Linked DNA regions of Homo sapiens: region 1 is linked to region 2. The links are contacts of gene promoters, found by promoter capture Hi-C in human tissues and cell types (Jung and others, 2019). All regions are on one chromosome and are shown on one strand. Each heading gives the region's core, a stretch centred on a gene start or on the middle of the fragment in contact. The rest is flanking DNA. Distances are from core to core; before and after follow the strand shown.

The links. Contacts are between HindIII fragments. The study calls those that stand out against the background at their distance.
Region 1: a contact is called between the fragment with the promoter of ZNF814 here and a fragment that was not itself captured in region 2, in 3 of the 25 tissues and cell types used here (aorta, dorsolateral prefrontal cortex and small bowel).

What each region holds. Positions count from the first base shown.
Region 1 is chr19:57,887,222-57,891,015 of GRCh38, forward strand. It overlaps ZNF814 (zinc finger protein 814), which reads right to left and starts at 1,816. Exons shown (of 3, transcript NM_001144989.2): 1 at 1,546-1,816. The coding sequence starts at 1,581. RefSeq lists enhancers at 1-692, 717-1,260, 1,261-1,803, 1,477-1,526. The HindIII fragment of the contact is 24,676 bases long and covers 1-3,794 here.
Region 2 is chr19:57,368,493-57,372,069 of GRCh38, forward strand. ZNF547 (zinc finger protein 547) reads left to right here. Exons shown (of 4, transcript NM_173631.4): 2 at 52-87; 3 at 3,290-3,416. The coding sequence starts at 64. Among named protein-coding and RNA genes, the nearest start is that of ZNF547, 6.7 kb to the left of the region's middle. The HindIII fragment of the contact is 8,803 bases long and covers 1-3,577 here.

The DNA of each region.
Region 1 (3,794 bases), core at 566-3,065, 520 kb after region 2:
CATCTAACCAGGTAAGGTCACAAACAAGGAAACTCTTCCACTATCAGTTCTCACCAGAGTATTCTGTAACTGTAAAAGATTAGGCCTTCAGCAGCTCAAAACTCAGCATCTGCTGCCTAAGGCTCTGCCACCTCAAAGACTCTTCCTTGTAAGACTGCAGGCCAATTGCCCACCAACTGGCCCAGACCAAGATGCCTTTTGTCTTCCTTGCTCCCTCTAAACTGGTTCCATAACGTTTGCTCCTATATCTTTTTCCTCTTGATGCTAAGCATTATTTTGTTCCTTGTGTTGTAATGCCCAACCTTGTTTTCACTAATCCTGTTTTTAGACTCTCCCTTTTGCTCTCTTAATCACCTAGCCTCGTTTCCACATGAATAGACTCTCGCTTAGCTGAGAAAGCCAGACGAGCTCCACCTGGCCCCCTTGATTTACAAGACATTAAGGACTCCTTACCCACCCCCCTTTCCTCAAGGAGTTAACTTGTGTAAGCAGATTCTCAACATATCAAAGGAGTCCAATTAACTGATAAGGGACTGGGAACAAACCATGTATGAAGTTCCCAGGATTTTGCTCAAAAGATAACACCATAAAGCCTTGAGTTTGTGTCTGGCGTAGTGCCCATATCTAACTCTTATGAAGGATTTAGAGCGCCACACCTGGTACCTTGCCTTTTTGTAACCATTTGTCTTTTAAATTGTTTGTTTCTCTGTAACCATTTATCCTTTTAATTTTTTGCATGTTTTTACTTCTGAAGAGTTGTTGCATTTAAGCTCCCCTCCCCTTCCTAAACCAAAGTATAAAAGTTAATCAAGCCCCTTCCTCGGGGCCGAGAGAATTTTGAGCGTTAGCCGTCTCTTTGGCCGCCAGCTGAATAAAGGACTCTTAATTCGTCTCAAAGTGTGGCGTTTTTCTAACTCGCCCGGGTACAACAGTGTTATGTTTAACCTTTAACATTTACATGTTAAGTATACTATTGTGTATTGTTTGCTATATTGACTGACTTGGGGAGTGTCTTCAGCCTCTGTGCCCATGGCCAACTACCAAGTGAACTGGAATCACAAGAGAATTGCCTCCTTCGAACTCCATTTAGCTCATGGCTTTTGTTGACTCAAATATCACCTGACACTGTGCAAAGACACAAACATGCATGGACCTGATTATCTCTACCCTTACAATGCTCATGACATCCCTCCTTTCTTCGAAAATCTCCATGCCTTCTAGGGTCCTCACGTGAGTTCATAGCCCCCAGCCTGCTTGCTCTTCCAGGAGGAGCTCCGCCTCATAATTTGCTCCCAACAGGCACCTGTGGACCCCAGATTCCATCCTTCTGGCTCAGTTCACTTCCAGGCCTTTGCCCGCGCCAGTCCCTGTACCTGCCGGTCTCCCCACCGCATCCCACGGGTGTCAGAAATGGGGCCCCTCCCGCAAGCGCCTCAGTGTCCCAACGCCGGCGTCCGGGCTGCAGAGCCGTGAACAGGCGCTGCTACCTCGCTGCTTTTGGGTGACGATGAGGTGACCTGAGGACACAGAAGGCCCCACAATTACCTGAGCGGAGAGCCTCAGCGTAGCCGCGGCAGCCATCGAACCACGTGGTTTTAAGCAGAGTCGGGAGGATAGGGCGACCAGCCAGGAGATATGGGCACGACGGTCCGTATCCTGGCCCAGGAGTGGGTCACGCTGGGCGCCGTCACAGAGCTCCAGAGTAGCCTCTGTGCAGCGGAGGACAACTGCTCCCCGACTTCTGGGTTCAGTCACCACAGTGCGGACCTAGCGCTCAGGAGCCTCTCCTACAAATAAATCCAACACCAATCAAAATGGCCGCCACCAGAGGGCGCCGGAAGTCCGGACCCATTGTCACGTGCACACAGGAAACGCCTTTATTCTGAGCCCTCAGAGGTCTTCTACGCTATCATTCGAGGCTGAGTTTTCTGGGTAATGTAGTTCCCTAGGCAACAAGGAGGGTAAAGGGCGCAATTCCCAGAGGCGCTTCTGCAGGAAAAGCCCAGCTTCACCTCGGGAGTATCCTTAAGATGTGCGTCCTGACTGGTATGGTGGCTCCCGCCTGTAATTCCACCAGTTTGGGAGGCCAAGTCACAAGGATCATTTGAGGTCAGGAGTTAGAAATTAGCCTGAGCAACAAAGCAAAATCCTGTCTCTACAAAAAATAAAAAATATTAGCGGAGTGTGGTCGGGCGGGCCTGTGGTCCCAGCTGCCCTAAGGTTGGGGTTAGGGTTAGGGAGCCTGAGGAGGGAGAATCGCTTGAGCTCAGGAGTTCGAAGCTGCTGTAAGCCGAGATCGTACCACTGCATTCCAGCCTGGGCAACAGAACGAGACCTCTTATCTAAAAAATAAAAATAAGGGCCAGGTGCGGGCGGCTCACGCCCGTAATCCCAGCACTTTGGGAGGCCGAGGCAGGTGGAACACCTGAGGTCAGGAGTTCAAGACTGGCCTGGCCAACATGGTGAAACCCCGCCTCTACTAAAAATACAAAAATTAACCCACATGGTGACATGCGCCTGTAATCCCAGCTACTGGGGAGGCCGAGGCAGGAGAATCTCTTGTACATGGGAGTCAGAGGTTGCGGTGAGTGAGATCCTGCCACTGCACTCCAGCCTGGGTGACACAGCAAGACTCCATGTTGGAAAAAAAAATAAAAATAAAAATAAAAAAATAAATAAAAGATTGCAGATCTTTCTCCTAGGCAGAGGATCATCCTGCCTCTCCTTAGAACTCACATTGAGATTTCTTGGGGTTATTGGCTGTAACTGATTACCCTAGTGTATGGAAAAATATTATTTCAGAGTTAGTGTAGATGTTCCCAAAGGCTACAGATCCAAATTCACCTATCATTTCAGATGGTCCTTCAGATGCAAAATTCTTCCACTGGAAGCAAAGATTAATGCAAAGATTAATAACCATTATTGTATTGTTAAAATGAACGTGTAAACACCCAGAGGGTTCATTTTTCCTACTGCCCAGATAAAGCCAATTTATCAGGACAGGGAAATTGCAAAAGAAAAAGAGTTTTATTCACACAGAGTTGGATGAACAGCATACTGGAGTCTTACTAGTATTACTCAAATCAGTCTCCCTGAAAATTGCGAGACTGGGGTTTTTTGTTGTTGTTGTTGTTTATTTGTTTGTTTGTTTTCTGAGACAGAATTTTGCTCCTGTTGCCCAGGCTGAAGTGCAATGTCACGATCTCAGCTCACTGCAACCTCCGCCTCCTGAGACTGGGGTTTTTTAAGGATAATTTGGTAGATAGGGGGCCATGAATTGGGGAATGCTGATTGGTTGGGTTGGAGATGAAATCATAGGGAGTCAAAGTTGTTCTCTTGTGCTGAGTGGGTTCTGGGGGAGAGGGAGGCACAAGACCAGATAAGCCAGTTTACCCATCTGAGTGGTGCCATCAGATCCATCAAGTTCAGGGTCTGAAAAATATCTCCAGCACCAATCTTAGCTTTTGCAATGGTGATACCATCCCTAGGAACAACTGGGGATGTTTACAGTCTTGTGGCCCCTGGCTGCATGACTCCTAAATGATAATTTCTAATCTATGGGGCCCTAATAAATCAGTAAGTTAACAGGAATTGGGAAGGAGCCAAGCTGGCAGAACAAGAACCTAACCCCATCTGCAACCTCTTTGTGGGAAGAAACCACAGCTGTCAGAAGTGTTTAACAGAGCAACTCCGTCTTGAATAGGGGTTGGATAAAATGAGGCTGAGCTGCATTCCCAGACAGTGAAGACATTCTAAGTCACAGGATGAGATAGGAGGTCAGCACAAGATACAGG
Region 2 (3,577 bases), core at 1-2,500:
GTAAGATCTTCCCATCGTTGCCCATTTCTCACGGTTTCCCTCTTCCTTCAGGGTCCCCTGGCGATGGCAGAAATGAACCCTGCACAGGTGAGTGGAGTGTTTTCTACCTTTCACCTACCAGTTATCTCATAGATGGTTTTGGCACCTCCATGTAAAGAAAAGTGGTGTCCAGAGACTCTCTTTCTGTCTTTCTCCCTCTCTTATGTCTGAAAAGTGAGTGATTCCACCAGTTCTAGTATCTTAAATTAGGTCTGGGATTTTTGTTTGATTGTTTTAAGTTTACTGTGACACCTTACCTGGATGGCCCTGGATTATGTGGAGTGGCTCCCATTTTTGACAGTTGACGTGGTAACATCTGTCAGAGTGTCATGGGCACAAGATTAAGAATGTTTCAGTGTTTAGAGGAGAGACTGAACTGGATTTTTAGGGAACTGCAAGTGTCTGTTATATCGGATAGGAATAGGGAGCAGAGTGGGAGGTGGCTAGAGACACACAAACATCAGGCCTGGAATGACAGCCTAGGTCCTGGGTCTCTAATCTAAGGGAGGTGGTAGATGGGGAAGATTTGAAGCAGAAGAGGGCAGTGATAGGACCCTAGCTTAAGGAACTTTCTTTGGCGTCTGAGTGGAGGACAGACTGTGGAGGTGAGGGTAATGGCAGGGAGATCTGAGAGGATGTTCCTGCAGCAGTCTAGGTGGATGTTGGTGGTGACTTGTCAAGAGTAGCGGTGGCTTCAGGATGTGTTTTGAACTGGAGCTGCCCACATTTTATGATGTAGAGAGTGAGGCAGCTGGGGGGGTGGGATAGAAGGGGAATCAGGAGTGGCCCCATGGTTTTTGTTTGGAAGCATAGATGCTCCATCAGCTAAGATGGGAGAAGTCAGCAGTATTAGGAATTTTCAGAGTGAGTGTGAGGAGTCAGTGTTTGTTCAAGCCACAGATGTCTCAGAGACTCCTGGTGGAGGAGTTCAGGTTGGAGACGTCCACACTATGGTGGCTGTCGTATGGACCAGGATGAAGCCATGGATTCAGTTTAGGTGACAGCATCTCTAGGTTATGGTGGCAGTGCTGTTCGAAGACAGAGAATTGGAATGGGGCATGAGAACTGGGTCTCTTACTGGGTAGCTGTGCAGTGGTGGAGGAGTCACTAGACAAATGAGGGAATGGAGTGTTTGTGGGGATGAGTGTATGTGAGATGGTGGGGTATAGGAGTGAGAAAGACTTCTGAAGGAGAGTGGACATGATGGGGTTGCTGAGGAGGGTAATAGGGTGAGGTCGGAGAGTTGCTAAGCATCAGTTGGAATGAGATGAGGATGGGAATTCTATTAGTCTGTTTTCATATTGCTACAAAGAACTACCTGAGACTGGGTACTTTATGAAGAAAAGAAGTTTAATTGACTCACAGTTCTTTTTTTTTTTTTTTTTTTTTTTTGAGATGTGGCCCAGGCTGGAGTGCAGTGGCACAATCTCGGCTCACTGCAATCTCTCCCTGCCAGGTTCAAGCGATTCTTCTGCCTCAGCCTCCTGAATAGCTGGGACGACAGACTCACCCCACTACGCCCAGCTAATTTTTGTATTTTTAGTAGAGATGGGCTTTCACCATGTTGGCCAGGATGGTCTTGATCTCCTGACCTCGTGATCCATCCTCCTCAGCCTCCCAAAGTGTTGGGATTACAGGCGTGAGCCACCGCACCCAGCCCATAGTTCTTCAGGCTTAACAGGAAGCATAACTCGGAGGCCTCAGGAAACTTACAATCCTGTGTCCATGAGGCAGGACACAGCTGAGAGTATGTGAAGTCCTCACATGGTTTGGGCACCTGACAGTGAAGTGAGAAACAGGGCCATGTAGGGAACCTTCAACCCAGGGCTTAGGGCTGCCCCCGGTGCTAGGGAACTTTGGTGTTCTGGGGCAGGACTGGGAGTGAATTGGATGCTGAGCGTATTTGCCGTGCACCACCTGGTTTCTGTGTGCAGAGTGGCCTGTTAGGAGGTGAAGGAAATGCCTGTGGTGTGGGCTGGGAGGTGTCTGTGGAATTGACTGGAGTGGAGGTGTGAGAGATGGGATTGGAGTGCTGTCCAAAGAGTGATGTGCAGGCAGGAGGAGTGTGAATGGAGGGCCTCAGGCCCTGGCCCTGGTAGCTCAAGGGAGGAGGATGAGTCTGAGTTTGGTTGTCTTGGGAGGCAAGATCTGGGTGACTCCATGGAAACTGGCTGGCAGGAGAGGATGGATCCCCCCACGGGAGGCCCACATTCCTTTTCTACCTTATCTTCCATCTGTTTCCTCTGTGTGCTGGACACGGTGGCCAATGTCAATATGGAGAGAAAAGTCACTCATGCCACCTGGATGTGGTTTCTCTTCCACATTGGGAGGGTGTAGAGATTGAGGAAGGAAAGGAGGTGTAGGGGAGAGGGATGAGTTCCTGGAGAGAGAAAAGTAGCAGTGATTGTACCCATTGGGGTTTTTTGTTTTTTTTTTTTTAGATGGAGTCTTGCTGTGTTGTCACCCAGGCTGGAGTGCAGTGGCATGATCTTGGCTCACTGCAACCTGCACCTCCTGGATTCAAGCAGTTCTGCCTCAATCTCCCAAGTAGCTAGGACTACAGGCATGTGCCGCCATGCCCACCTAATTTTTGTATTTTTAGTAGAGATGGGATTTCACTGTGTTGGCCAGGCTGGTCTTGAACTCCTGACCTCAGGTGATCTGCCCGCCTCAGCCTCCCAAAGTGCTGGGATTATAGGCATGAGCCACTGTGCCTGGCCCCCATGGAGTTTTAATTTATGGATGTGAGTGAGTGATGCCAGGGACAGGCCAATGACACTGAAAGAAGATATTTATTCCTTACGTTTCCCTAAGGAGGTTACATACCACATAACACAGGGCCACACGGTGAAACACCAGATTTGATCAGGAGGAAAATTGGAGTGAGTTTAGTTTAGTCCACAGATGCTGTTGGGGTTTCCAAGGGAAACAAGGCAGGGCTGGCTGTCAGGATAGTTTGGCTAGTTTTAGTAATTCCAGGACACCTGGGCTATTGGGACTGTCCCTAGTTGTGCAGTACCTGTCCCTGGGTTGATTTAGAGCATGGGAAATACTGACTTGGTTTGAGAAAGTTAGAGATGGAGATGGTTAAGAATATGTGCCCAGGATGGTAGGGGAGATGGAAACACATTTAGCTGTTAGTTTGTCCCTGTGTTTAATGGGTGGTAAATATAAGTAGAAAATAAATAGAGAACTTAAGTAAATACAGTTTGAAAAGCTGCTCATGTATTCATCTTTCCCAATTTGGCAGGGTCATGTGGTTTTTGAAGACGTGGCCATATATTTCTCCCAGGAGGAGTGGGGGCATCTCGATGAGGCTCAGAGATTGCTGTACCGTGATGTGATGCTGGAGAATTTGGCCCTTTTGTCCTCACTAGGTAAGGCCCTCACACTTGCCCAGTGTCCTGGGTTGGGCTGTGTTGTCTCCTTTTACCTGAAGGCAGCTCTGCGTTTCCCACAGTGAGACCATGGGTGCTGCTTCTTTTCCTTGTTTCCTGACATATGTTCCATGAGAGTCAGGACTGCAATATGTGCTGTG